Linked DNA regions of Homo sapiens: all the other regions are linked to region 1. Evidence: promoter capture Hi-C in 16 types of primary human blood cells and fetal thymus (Javierre and others, 2016). All regions are on one chromosome and are shown on one strand. The core of a region is centred on a gene start or on the middle of the fragment in contact, and the rest is flanking DNA. Distances in the headings are between cores, read along the strand shown. Region 1 holds the start of PSMD5 (proteasome 26S subunit, non-ATPase 5). Region 2 overlaps FBXW2 (F-box and WD repeat domain containing 2). Region 3 overlaps FBXW2 (F-box and WD repeat domain containing 2). Region 4 has its middle 20 kb from the start of MEGF9.

Evidence for each region. The method cuts DNA at HindIII sites, captures the fragments that hold promoters and counts their contacts. A CHiCAGO score of 5 or more calls a contact.
Region 2: a fragment that was not itself captured here is called in contact with the fragment with the promoter of PSMD5 in region 1 in 5 of 17 cell types (monocytes, activated CD4 T cells, naive CD4 T cells and 2 more); the score reaches 6.4 in monocytes.
Region 3: a contact is called between a fragment that was not itself captured here and the fragment with the promoter of PSMD5 in region 1, in 1 of 17 cell types (naive CD8 T cells). The highest score is 5.1, in naive CD8 T cells.
Region 4: a fragment that was not itself captured here is called in contact with the fragment with the promoter of PSMD5 in region 1 in 1 of 17 cell types (monocytes); the score reaches 5.2 in monocytes.

Annotation. Positions count from the first base shown.
Region 1 is chr9:120,841,454-120,844,185 of GRCh38, forward strand. PSMD5 (proteasome 26S subunit, non-ATPase 5) reads right to left here and starts at 1,469. Exons shown (of 10, transcript NM_005047.4): 1 at 1,284-1,469. The coding sequence starts at 1,456. It also overlaps the pseudogene CUTALP. RefSeq lists enhancers at 1,090-1,619, 1,191-1,490, 1,378-1,672, 1,438-1,732, 1,691-2,040. The HindIII fragment of the contact is 10,742 bases long and covers 1-2,732 here.
Region 2 is chr9:120,758,373-120,761,483 of GRCh38, forward strand. It overlaps FBXW2 (F-box and WD repeat domain containing 2), which reads right to left. Exons shown (of 8, transcript NM_012164.4): 8 at 1-3,111. Among named protein-coding and RNA genes, the nearest start is that of FBXW2, 33 kb to the right of the region's middle. The HindIII fragment of the contact is 8,038 bases long and covers 1-3,111 here.
Region 3 is chr9:120,777,183-120,780,175 of GRCh38, forward strand. It overlaps FBXW2 (F-box and WD repeat domain containing 2), which reads right to left. Exons shown (of 8, transcript NM_012164.4): 4 at 1,169-1,363. Among named protein-coding and RNA genes, the nearest start is that of FBXW2, 15 kb to the right of the region's middle. The HindIII fragment of the contact is 313 bases long and covers 1,258-1,570 here.
Region 4 is chr9:120,733,005-120,735,913 of GRCh38, forward strand. No RefSeq gene overlaps it. Among named protein-coding and RNA genes, the nearest start is that of MEGF9, 20 kb to the left of the region's middle. The HindIII fragment of the contact is 879 bases long and covers 1,115-1,993 here.

The DNA of each region.
Region 1 (2,732 bases), core at 219-2,718:
CTGTAGTCCCAGGTACTCGGCAGGCTGAGGCAGGAGAATGGCGTGAATCAGGGAGGCGGAGGTTGCAGTGAGCCGAGATCGCGCCACTGCACTCCAACCTGGGAGACAGAGCGAGACTCGTCTGAAAACAAACAAACAAACAAAACAAAACAAAACAAAACACAGAGATCTTTCCATGTCCACATACATATATATACATCTACCTCAATAACTTAAATAACTGCACAGTGTTACAGAGTAATAGCGCATAATTTGGAATCCTCTGTTAACGGATATTTAGATTGTTTCTAGTGTTCTGGTGCCACACACGATATGTTATATTCTTGCATATAATGTTGTAGGGTCCTCCAGTCGCCCCCTTTCTTTCTCTGTCCTGATGGAAAATCAGAGTGCCTTGATTGCTCTCTGACCTAGCCAGCGGCAGGTTTCCCTAGCAGGCTTGACCATAAACCAGGGGCCTTGAACATTCACAGGCCTGATAAAGGTACCTAGGTTGTTGCCCAAAACACTGGAAGAAACTGGCCTCAACCCTGAGCCAAATTCCTTTAAACTCTCATCTGAACTCCATACCCTGACCCCCTCACTGCGGACATACCCAGGAACACCTTTCTCCCGGTGTCCGTCTTGACAATTTCTGCAGCCCTCTGCAGGTTTCCCCCTAAACGCTTTTGGACTGATCGCCTTGGCATTCAGTGCTTCTTTTTCTGTCATCCCAACCAGCCACATCTCGGGAAGGTTTGAAGCACTCCCTCGTGGGAACTCTCTTGCCGCTGCTTTTGGGGCGATTCCAGCCTCGGGTTCGAAAGAACAAAGTAACTGCACATTTTGTGCGCGTATACTTGCATTAAATTTTTTTAACAAGAATGACTGGATGAAAAAGCATGTGAATTTAAAATGCTGATGGTTCTTGCCACATTGCCAGGATAGGATCCTTTTAGAAGGGGAAACAAATCAAGAACCTGTACAAAGAGATGTGGAATGCTCCTTGTAAGTGGACAGCTTTGCTTTCCTCCTTTAATTTCTATTTGATGAAGAAGGCAGTGCCTCACTGCTCAGAGGCAGCGAGGCCAGGCGACGGGAGAAAACACCCTGGGGCACTCTCAGAGGCTGAACCTGAACCCCATCTCCTGCCTCTGAACCCAGGATCCTTCCTTCTCTGCAAATTTCGGCTACTTTCCACCTCCCCTGTGACTGGGAAAAGCGCTGTTCTTGCCCTCAACCACTCTCATGTCCATATTTAGGGGTGCCCCTCTCCTCGGCTCAAGCCCCCGGGGTCCTCTCACCTATGGTTCTCGTTAAGCAGGGAGAAGAGCGGGCCGAGGCGCAGCTCCGCCGCTTGCTGGCGAAGCTCGTTGAGCGGCACTGCCTGCAGCACGGAGTGAAGCGCGCGTAGCTCCTCCAGCGGCGCTTCCAGCCTCGCTACCTCTCTCAGCAGCGCCAAAGCCTGGGCTGCCATCTTGCCCCCCGACGCAGGGGCTGGCCCAGCGGCCCAGTTCCCGGGGCGCTTTCCTGAACCTCGCGAGATCTGATCACAGCCTCCTTGTCCCTGAGATGGCTATGGGGCTGCCAAGCCTCGCGAGAAGCCTCCGTTAGGGCCGTGTCAACTGTAGCCAGTGGTTGCGGCTCCCTCAGTCTGGCGTCATCTAGGTCGCTGCTCAGGGAAATGCGGAGGCCAGTAGGCTTACGTGTTTACCGCGTAGGGCAAAGCCTTGCCAAATTCCCGGCCAGCGGAGCGGCGAGGGTGGGGACTCACGGGAAGTTAAACAGCCTCGTCGGCGTCCTCGAGGCTCCAAAACCAGGCTCTAGGCGGGGACGACTGCAGCCGTTATGGAGGCCACCGCGGCTACGGCCGCGGCTGAGGCCTCCCCAGGTGGAGCGGTGGCCTGGAGGGGAATCTTGATCCTGGGCCAGCCACCTGTCAAGAGGAGGCGGAGCGTCATGCCTCTGGAAGACTGGATGAATATTCTCCAGGAGCCTGACGAAGGCGTGAGTAATAGGGACGTGCGCCGCCTTGTTGGTGTTGATCAGTCCACCAAGGAGAAGCAGCTGGTCGCAGTGGCCGTACCTGTAATCCCAGCGCTTTGGGAGGCCGCGGCGGGAGGATCGCTTGAGCCCGGGAGTTCGAGACCAGCCTGGGCAACATAGTGAGAAACCCGTCTCTACCAAAAAGAAAAAAAAAAAAAAAGGAAAAAAATTAGTGCGGTGTGGTGGCACGCACCTGTAGTCCCAGCTACTCGGGAGGCTGAAGCGGGAGGGTCCCCTAAGTCTAGGAGGTCGAGGCTTCAGTGAGCGGTGATTGTGCCACTGCACTCCAGCCTGGGCGACAGAGCAAGACCCTGCTTTCCCCTCTTGTCCTCCACTACCCTCAGGAAACCAAGAAAGACCAGCGTGGAGAGTTGGTCGCCCATCTGCTCTAAGCTGCTGTGTATTCCCCTGTAATGTAAACATCGTGAAGGTGGAGACCCAGTTAACCTTTTAGGTGGAAGGCCAGATGACAGAGGGCGGCATCTGACCCGGAAGGCCCTCTGCAACCAGGCCAAATACATCTACAGGGAACCAATGGGAAACATCTGGGGAGGACAACCCAAATAAGTATCATGCGAGCAAGGGATGGTTTGAGAACTTTAAAAATCGCTGCTGTTTTGCAACATACGAAGTTGATGGGGAGGAAGGACCCTTAAATCCTGAGTGGGTATCGAGTATTCCAAGCAACTGGAGAGAGGCTTTGTGCC
Region 2 (3,111 bases), core at 541-3,040, 83 kb before region 1:
ATTAGCTAGGGCTCCATGATGTTAAGGAATCCAGATGTGCCCTGATGGTAACGGAGAGTTACCAAGATTGAACAAGAGCAAGTAAGTGCTCAAAGAAGTGGTTGGGGAGACTCCCTGGAAGCAAAGCATAAGACAGGTTGAACAGTGCACACAAGTGGTGAAGGCAGAAGGCAGCAGTCGGGATTTGAAGAGACTTGAAATACAGAAAGAACAGACAAACATGAAAACATGGAAAAAATCCAGGTGTGTGGGGGCTGAAAATCAGGGCTTCAGCCTCACCACTTACTATAACTCCTCTAGGCAATGAATCACTTTACCAAGCCACAGCTTTCTCATCTGTAAAACAGGAATGACAATCTGCCCTTAATGATGCTGTCAGGGGATCAAAGGTGCAGGGCCGTGGTACTCAAATGACAAGAAGCCCCGTAAGTTTAAGTTAGTAAGAAAGAACTCATGCAAAGATGTGCTGGATAGACACATCCTTGGGCAAAAGAGAGGAAGACTATTCCAAGGTCTGGAAGCAAAATGGGACTTTTACCCACCCCATCCCTTCATTTGCAACTATTCATGAAATTCACCAAAATTATTTCCTTGTGTTTTACCTTTATTGTTTTGCTTTTTGGATCACCTTCAGAAATGGTTATATTGTTGAGTTTACCTTCTAGAAGATGCAGAAACAGTAAAAAAACAGAGCCACCTCAGATCACTCAAGGGGTTGTTCTATTTTCAAAAACACACTGACTTTTGAAAAGTCCCTGCATTGGTTGGATAAAATGTCTGAAGTGGTTGGGGGGAAAGCAAGACAAAGTCTTAACTACAGAATATATTTTTAAGGAAATGCAGCTTTATTACTTTCAAGTACAAACAATAACTTGGGCTTGGCTAACCAAATTTGCCTAATTGAGGGAATCTGCTTTAATGTACAGATATAAATGATTTATAGTTAACACAATCACTCACGGGTAAAAAGAGTGCTTCTATGATGCAAGAAAATAACTTCTCATCTTAGAGACATCTTGTTCCACAATCACCCCACTATTTGCTTAAGCAACCTCTTCTTCCCCCTACCCCACACAGTTCAAATATAAACTTTATCTCATGCCCTCTAAATCACAACATACATCAAATTCGTGAAATATGAGTTGATTACTTTTTCCACATTGCTATAGATGTTGGATTGCTGACAGAACTATCTCTTCAACCTGAGCATTCTCATCAAGTATACTAAGTCTAAATCAGTGAAATATGCCTGTTCACAATCTGAGTACAAAGACACCAAAACATGAGCTTTTATCATCTGAATTACTAATTTTCCAGGGTTGAATATTAAAAACACATATTTACTTGGGCACATTTATGAAGAGTAGAAGTAGCTGAATTCTTTAGGCTGCAATAATTAAGTGGGTTTACACTGGTCAGGATTGAATTACTAAATTTAAACAACTGAACTGTTCCAGGAAAGACAAGAAACACTGAAACATCCTAACAGCAAAACAGCTTTTTGCACTGAGCGTGACCATTCAGTCTGATTAGGCTGATGGGAATGGTGCAAAGACTACTCAGTAATCCATTTGAGGATTTATTCTGAAAAAAGTTTACTTTCCTAGAGCAGGCATGGGGAACCTTTGATCAGAAACACTGCCAAAGATGGCTAATGGGCATTGTGTCAAAAAAGTGAATCTGTTCTTTTCATCAGACATTCTGAGGACAGCATAATTCTCAAGTGTCTTGGTTGTCTAAACCAAGCGAAAGCACCAGCGTAACCAGGTAGGAGGGCTGTGTCAAGAAGACGGACCTAAAGGGCTTCTCCCCTATCCTGACAACTGTGTCCACAGGCAAAGGTGACAGTATGCCCTGCCCGGACTGCATCATGAGTAGCAATCTGATTCTGCTCGCTTCCCAACAGAGAAAGGCAAGTGGCTTCATACACCAAGGCCCAGAGGAAGAGGCACAGAAAGCTATAAAAGTGATGCTGGGGCCGGGCACAGCAGCTCACGCCTGTAATCCCGGCACTTTGGGAGGTAGAGGCGGGCAGAACACGAGGTCAAGAAATCAAGACCATCCTGGCCAACATAGTGAAACCTCGTCTCTACTAAAAATACAAAAATAGCTGGGCGTGGTGGCACGCGCCTGTAGTCTCAGCTACTCAGGAGGCTGAGGCAGGAGAATCGCTTGAACCCAGGAGGCTGAGGTTGCAGTAAGCCGAGATCACGCCACTGCACTCCAGCCTGGGGATAGAGCAAGACTCTGTCTCAAAAACATACAAAAAAAACAAAACAAAACAAAAAAAACAGTGATGTTGGTAGGATTCACCTCTAGGCAATCTGGAAGCCACACAGTAACAACTTCAAGTTGCCAGCTGGGTTTGGTCAAAGAAATGTGTAAAGCCAGGATCCACTATCCTTAGCTGATTCTGTTAGATCAAAATGCCTAATACAAACAATTTCCTCATGTCTAAAATACTGTTTCCGAAAGTTATTTCTTTTGTTTTACAAATAGAGAGCAGTAATCATTTTCCTATGAATACTAGAATGATTATATAATCCTCATTCAAACCTCACACCAAGTGTTTTCAACAGCCAGAACAGAGCAATTTTTAAACTACGAAAAATGAAGTGCAAACCTTACAATTTCATAGCAATGTTCCCCACGTTTCACTCATGAACAGCTATCCAATTGCATGCACCTTCCTGCAGAACTTCTTCCAAGTCCAGTCCTTCCACTGGAGGGGCTTTCTTCCTATTTCTCCAATAGGTCTAAAATGTCAGGTTACAGTCAGATTTGGCAATGTGTATTACTTCAAATGATTGAGCTGGAGGAAACTACATTCCTTTGGAATGATGACAGAATCTATCAGAAACTTCACACATCCACTCAGCTCTCCTGGATCCCTGTCCACACCATGAAGCCTGAAGTTGTTATGATGGCCTTTATGAACCTGAAAGAAGCCGCTGGCTTCCACCACACCACAGTGTCACCCAAGAAATCCAATCCTTGTAAGAAAGGATAGGGCTTATCTTCTCATGACTTAGAATTTTTCAGAAATGAGAATATTCACAAAAGAGGGAAAGGCAATTCCCTTACCTATGCGCTAAGGAAGCCAAAGTCAGT
Region 3 (2,993 bases), core at 164-2,663, 64 kb before region 1:
GGAAGTCATGGTACATCTTAACATTGTGGAACATAACACTCAATTTAACATATACTTCCATGCATACATGCACCTTCAAATATTAATTTCTAACAAGTGGTAGCAGACAGCAAAGACTGAAGAAGAGTATATAGGAGGACAAATAAAATGAAGCAAAAAATACGTGTTTTTATTAGCCTAACGGCTAGTTTTACTTCAAAGAATCACTAAGCACCAGGTACAGTGCAAGTAACTCCAGTCACATGGGTGAACAAGACAGATAAGATCACTGTCCTTATGGAGTTTAGTCTGGTGGGGAAGCAAGATTATATTTGTATGATGAGCGGTCTACAGTAATACAAGTTACTGGGAAATAGAGGGACGCAACCTGTTAAGGGAGTTTTGGAAGGCTGCTCATAAACGTAATGCTTGACATTACAGACTATGATTCTCAGAGGCTAAAGCAGTGGGTAAATGGGGGAAAGGAAGGGAGCTGCTCAACACAAGAGGCTGGGAAATAGCTCAATTTCTACACAAAGCCTCCCCACCCCCGCCCCCGCCAAAAAAAAAGCAACAGAGAGAGAAGCTCAAATCTCAAGGCTATATTCAAATGACCAGTTTTTGCAAAATAAGGATGCTATACATTTATTAGGAAACATTCAGGTATGTTTCTTTCGCCTTATCTCTAGGTGGTAGCTTGTTTTAATCAACTGTCAACCAAGCTCAAACTGGATGTAATCTGTGTAGACCACACAATCTAAGAACCACCGTCACACCAAAGAACTTTCAGCCCTAATGCTACAAATAAAGTGGAATTTACACAAGTAGGATTTACTCAGTTCAGAGGTATGGAATCTGATAAAAGCCAAGGGACTGTCTGTTCAATAGGATATAAATGAAACAGGAGGGGGGAGAGAGAGAATGAGAGAGAGAGAGAGAAACAGAGAGAGAATGAAAACTACCCTTCCCACCAGAAGGGTACACACATAGAAGAAAGCAAGAAAAAGCAAAACTGGGTAAAACATTCGAAATAAGAGTAACTAGAATAAAGGGAAATAACTGCAATGACTAAGAAAGAGGGTTGAAAAAAGCAGGTTAAATTAAAAAAAAAAAAGCATTTCACATTCTTGGCTCCTGGCTTAAAAGGATGAGGCTAAGTTGTAAAAACCCTTGAAAAAGGGCAACCCACCCGCCCCCGTGTGCCCCCGAAAGTGCTGGGTCCTGGCTCCGGAACTCCATTCCCAGCAAGCCACAGTGTTGTCAAAGGAGCCTGTCACAAGCTTCTGTTCATCAAACTTCACCGCTGCACAAGTGTGGGTCTGGATGCCATAAACGCACTGCCCTGTGCTCACATCCCACAGCTTTGCAGACAAGTCATCTGACCCTTCAAGAGAAAAACAGGGAGGTTAATAAGAAAACAAACACACTAAAGAAGGAAAATCAATCCCAAAATCATGGTGTTCTTCAAGAACATTAACGGTCCCTTCCTCTAGCACTTTACTTTACCACTGAAGAAATCAAAGCACGGAGAGAGTAACACAACTTGCTTAGAGTCACCAAAACGGAGTCAAAAGCACTAGGACAGAATCCAAGCTTTTTGGGTGAGACACTTTCCCTTAACTTTTCAGGCTACAGAAGGTCATTAGACTAAAAGCATCCCTTGGTGCTTCCACTTGAAAAATTTCATAAATCCTTGGCTATCACGAGCTCTCTGATTTGACTTCAAATAAATAGGTATTACACATGACTGCATGTTTACACTTGCATGCTTGTCCATTACCCAACAGTTCTGAACAAATAAGGATTGTTAAATAGTAAAGGTGTTTGCTGAAATATATTCCACTCTAAGGCAAGTCAAGGACAAACCTCAGAGCCTGGGCTAACTTCTGCAAAAGCTAACTGCTAATTGCTCCAGTCATCTTGAAATACGTGAAGGAAGAAACCTCAAGGAAAACCTGGGATAAATTATCCCCAGATATTCACAACTCAACAAAAAGTTTGTAAAGCCTCTTAAGATTCTGAAGGGAAAAGTTGGCTTTATTTCTGCCTCTGATGAAAATTCTATACTAATCATGGTGACAATTCAGGACTTTGCTTTAAGTTTAAAATCCTAATGATTAATTCATTCTTACAATGACCCTTCAATAAGCCTCAACAAATAAAAAGACATTTTTGAGAATCCACTAAATACAGTCACTATGATAATGGCACAGTATCCTAGGAAAGCACCAAATGACCAGTTTTTAAAAAGCTGAAATGACTAAAGCCAGCCACAATTCTACCTTCAGTCAAGAACCACTGTTTGAGACAATGGAAAAATAGCCATCACTTATGAAAGAGCTAGAGTATGAATTTTAACCTGGGAAAACTATGATAGCATACTGAAATAAAGACTGTATTTATTGTCACTTTGCTATTTAGACTGTTTCCTTCTGTATAAAAAGAGGGGTAGGACTTGGTTGGTTCTCAATGGCCATGTGATACAACTTTATCAAAACACACAGGCAGGTCCCTATTTTCAGAGAGTTTAACTTGGGGAACATCTGAGGCAGGGTCCAATAATCTTAAAAGTTTGCCAGGTGATTCTAACTCATCAGCAATATTTTGAGAGCCAATGGTCTAGAACGGTGCTATCCAACAGAAAATATAATGCAAACTGCAGATATAATTTAAAATGTCCTAATAGTTACATTAAAAAAGAAATGTTGGGCCGGGCGCAGTGGCTCATGCCTGTAATCTCAGCACTTTAGGAGGCCAAGGCAGGCATATTGCCTGAGCTCAGGAGTTCAAGACCATCGCGAAACCCTGTCTCTACTAAAATAAAAAAAATCAGCCGGGCATGATGGCGCGCCTATATTCCCAGCTACTCGGAAGGCTGAGGCATGAGAATCGCTTGAGCTGGGGAGGCAGAGGTTGCAATGAGCTGAGATCACGCCACTGCATTCCAGCTTGGACTACAGAGGGCCTCCACCTCAAAGAAAAAAAAAAAAAAAAGAAATGTTAGCCAACATGGT
Region 4 (2,909 bases), core at 304-2,803, 110 kb before region 1:
GAGCCAAGATGGCGCCACTGCACTCCAGCCTGGGTGACAGAGTGAAACTGTATAAAAAAAAAAAAGGAATCAAATTCCTAAGCCAAATAAATGCATCTATAGTTGTGTAAATTAAGAAATCTGCCATCCAGGTGGGGAGGGGGTACCTGTTGCATCAGCAGGTTGATGGCGGGGCCCTGCCTGGTCGGTGTGGTTCTCCCTCTCCCAGGCCATGTCACCTTGTTCAAGTAGAACATTTATTCCTGCCCACCACAGGCATTTGACTCTCTGGAATTCATGGGAGGTTCTAGAGTGCGTCCGGCTCTGTGTCAACTACCACTGTGCAATTCCTGCAAAGGCAGTTGAGGCGGGGGTGGAGTAGCCCTGAATAAACTGACAGCCAGAGGACTGGGATATCAGCTGAGAACGTTCCCATGGAAAAGAAAAGTCCAGCCCCTTCCAGCAAATGCTGCCTGGCTCTGCAAAGAGTGCCTTGTCATCTCATTGGCATTGCTTCTGTATTTCTTTCCTATTTCAGACCAGAAGTGAGTGCATGGAGGATCTCTGTGAGCTGGTTTTCTCTATCTTCAGGATAATCCAACCTTTAGTAACAAAAGCAGAAAAATCTATTCCTATCCTTTGGCTCCCAAGTCCACATCTAAGTGATTCGTCCTAAGGATGTATTTCCAAAATTGTTTTTAAATCTTGTTTCAGGCCAGGAGCGGTAGCTCACGCCTGTAATCCCTGCACTTTGGGAGGCTGAGGTGGGTAGATCACCTGAGGTCAGGAGTTTGAGACCAGCCTGGCCAACATGGCAAAACCCTGTCTCTGCTAAAAATACAAAATTTAGCCACGTGTGGTGGCGGACACCTGTAATCCCACCTACTCGGAAGGCTGAGGCAGGAAAATTGCTTGAACCCAGGAGGCAGAGGTTGTAGTGAGCCAAGATGATGCCATTGCACTCCAGCCTGGGCAACAGAGTGAGACTGTCTCAAAAAATAAGTAAATAAATAAATCTTTTTTTAAATAAAGGTTGCTAGTATTATGCATGATTACATAAAGTGGGGCCTACCCAGGTCCCAAATGACAGGTGGATGAGCAAACTTTGGCCCCCATTTGAAAGAATACTATGATAAGCTTAAAAATGACAAAATGAAATTCGTCAAAATATAGAAAAGTATATATGAAAGAATGTCCAGGGAAAATATTGGAAACCCAAACTGCACAAATCAATCAGTTTCTCCCTGCAGCCCTGTTGATGAAAACTGGAAGAGTTCAAGAAATAGTTATGTAAAATTTAAATAAAGTCCATGTTCTTTTTTGTGGGTATTTGTGTGCTTAAGTAATGTAAGTATCATAATCCCTAAGAAAATACTTTCTAACTTTTAAACATTGTTCACTATAAAATTATCATTCACTTTCTTCAAAAAATAATAAATTATTTTAATAATTGCTAATTGCTCTGTCTAGAGTTAGGTGGTTGGGATACAGAAGTAATTGCTTCCTGGCATTCAGGAAAGTACGGGTCTTGTTTTGACCAGGCCTCTGCCTTCCCAGGGTTACTCCAGGAATTGGGATCTAGAACAGCATATGTTTACACCCAAAGGTGGGAGATCACTTTCTCAGGCAGGACTGGTCCTGGACTAGGGAAAACTACTCATCTAGCCCAAATGACTTGTCCTTCCAAAGAAACTATTCTGCTCCCCCAACTAATAATATTAGCCATATCAAGATTCTTAGCTGCAAACAAGAAAAAATTTGCCATGGATAGTTGCATAACAATGATCATTATTATCATCACTTTTGGTGCAGTTGTTGTATGCAGGCACTGTGCTGGGCTCAATGGGAAGGGTTTTATGTGCATTATCTCTTTTTATCAACAACCTAGAAAAGAAGGCAATTACTTCCTGTTATGGATGAAGGAACTGAGGCTAAGAAAGGCTGAGAAACTTGCCCAGAGACCACAGATTTAGTAAGTGGTAGAGGAGATTTTCAAAGCTAGAGCTGACTGCCAAGCTTGAGGTCTTAACAAGCTTAGTTTCTGCAATGAAAATCCTGCTGGGCTTCAGTGAGAATCCAGCAAGCTGGTGATGCAGCCTCCATCCTTGGTGGGCCCCTACTAGCCTTAATATTTCAGGGCAGTTTCCAGGAGAGCTGGCTGGAGTCAGTGGTTGGCATCCACACGCAGCAGAGCCATGAAGCTGGCTTTCCCAGCAGCTCACATTAACTGGCAGTGGCAGCCAAGGCAGGTCAGAAGCAGAAATGCTCTCAGGGCCTCAGGAAACATCTGCAAGTCCTCAAGGAGACAAGACCTGCCCCCTTATCACCTCTTCGGGGGAGAGAGTGGGCCTATCCCATCTGCAGGGAAAGAATGAACACATTGCTTTTATTTTCCAAGGTGTGTTCCTGTAAATGAAACAATTCACTGCTATGCAACTTTTAGGATTGGCCACTTGAGAGCAGGCCTTGTACTGGACAATGGGGTGGCAGTCCTGAAATCAGAGCCACCACCTGCCTGCCAGGGCTTGTGGGGCAAGGGTGAAGATGGTGACAAGTGACAAGCAGTATTTGCAATTCAAAGTGAATGGTGCAAGGAAAAGGGGATGTGGTGTAAGGGGGAGAGTATGAACTTTGGAGTCAGAAAGTTCTGTTTCTTCATGTCCTGGTTGTGAGACTTTGGGCAAATTTCCTAACATCTCGAGGTTGTTTCCTCATCTGGAAGAAATGTAAATAGTTATACTTGTATTGCATAATTACCATGAACATTAAAAGGTACAAGTATATCAATACTTAAAATTGCCTAGCAGATAATGGGAGCTCAATAAATGATAACATTACTAGTGTTATTAAAAAGGCTCAGTTGGAGGATCTATAAATGGTGTTGTTGAAAAGAAAACAGAAGGGACATATTAGCTGGGTTTTGATGGGGA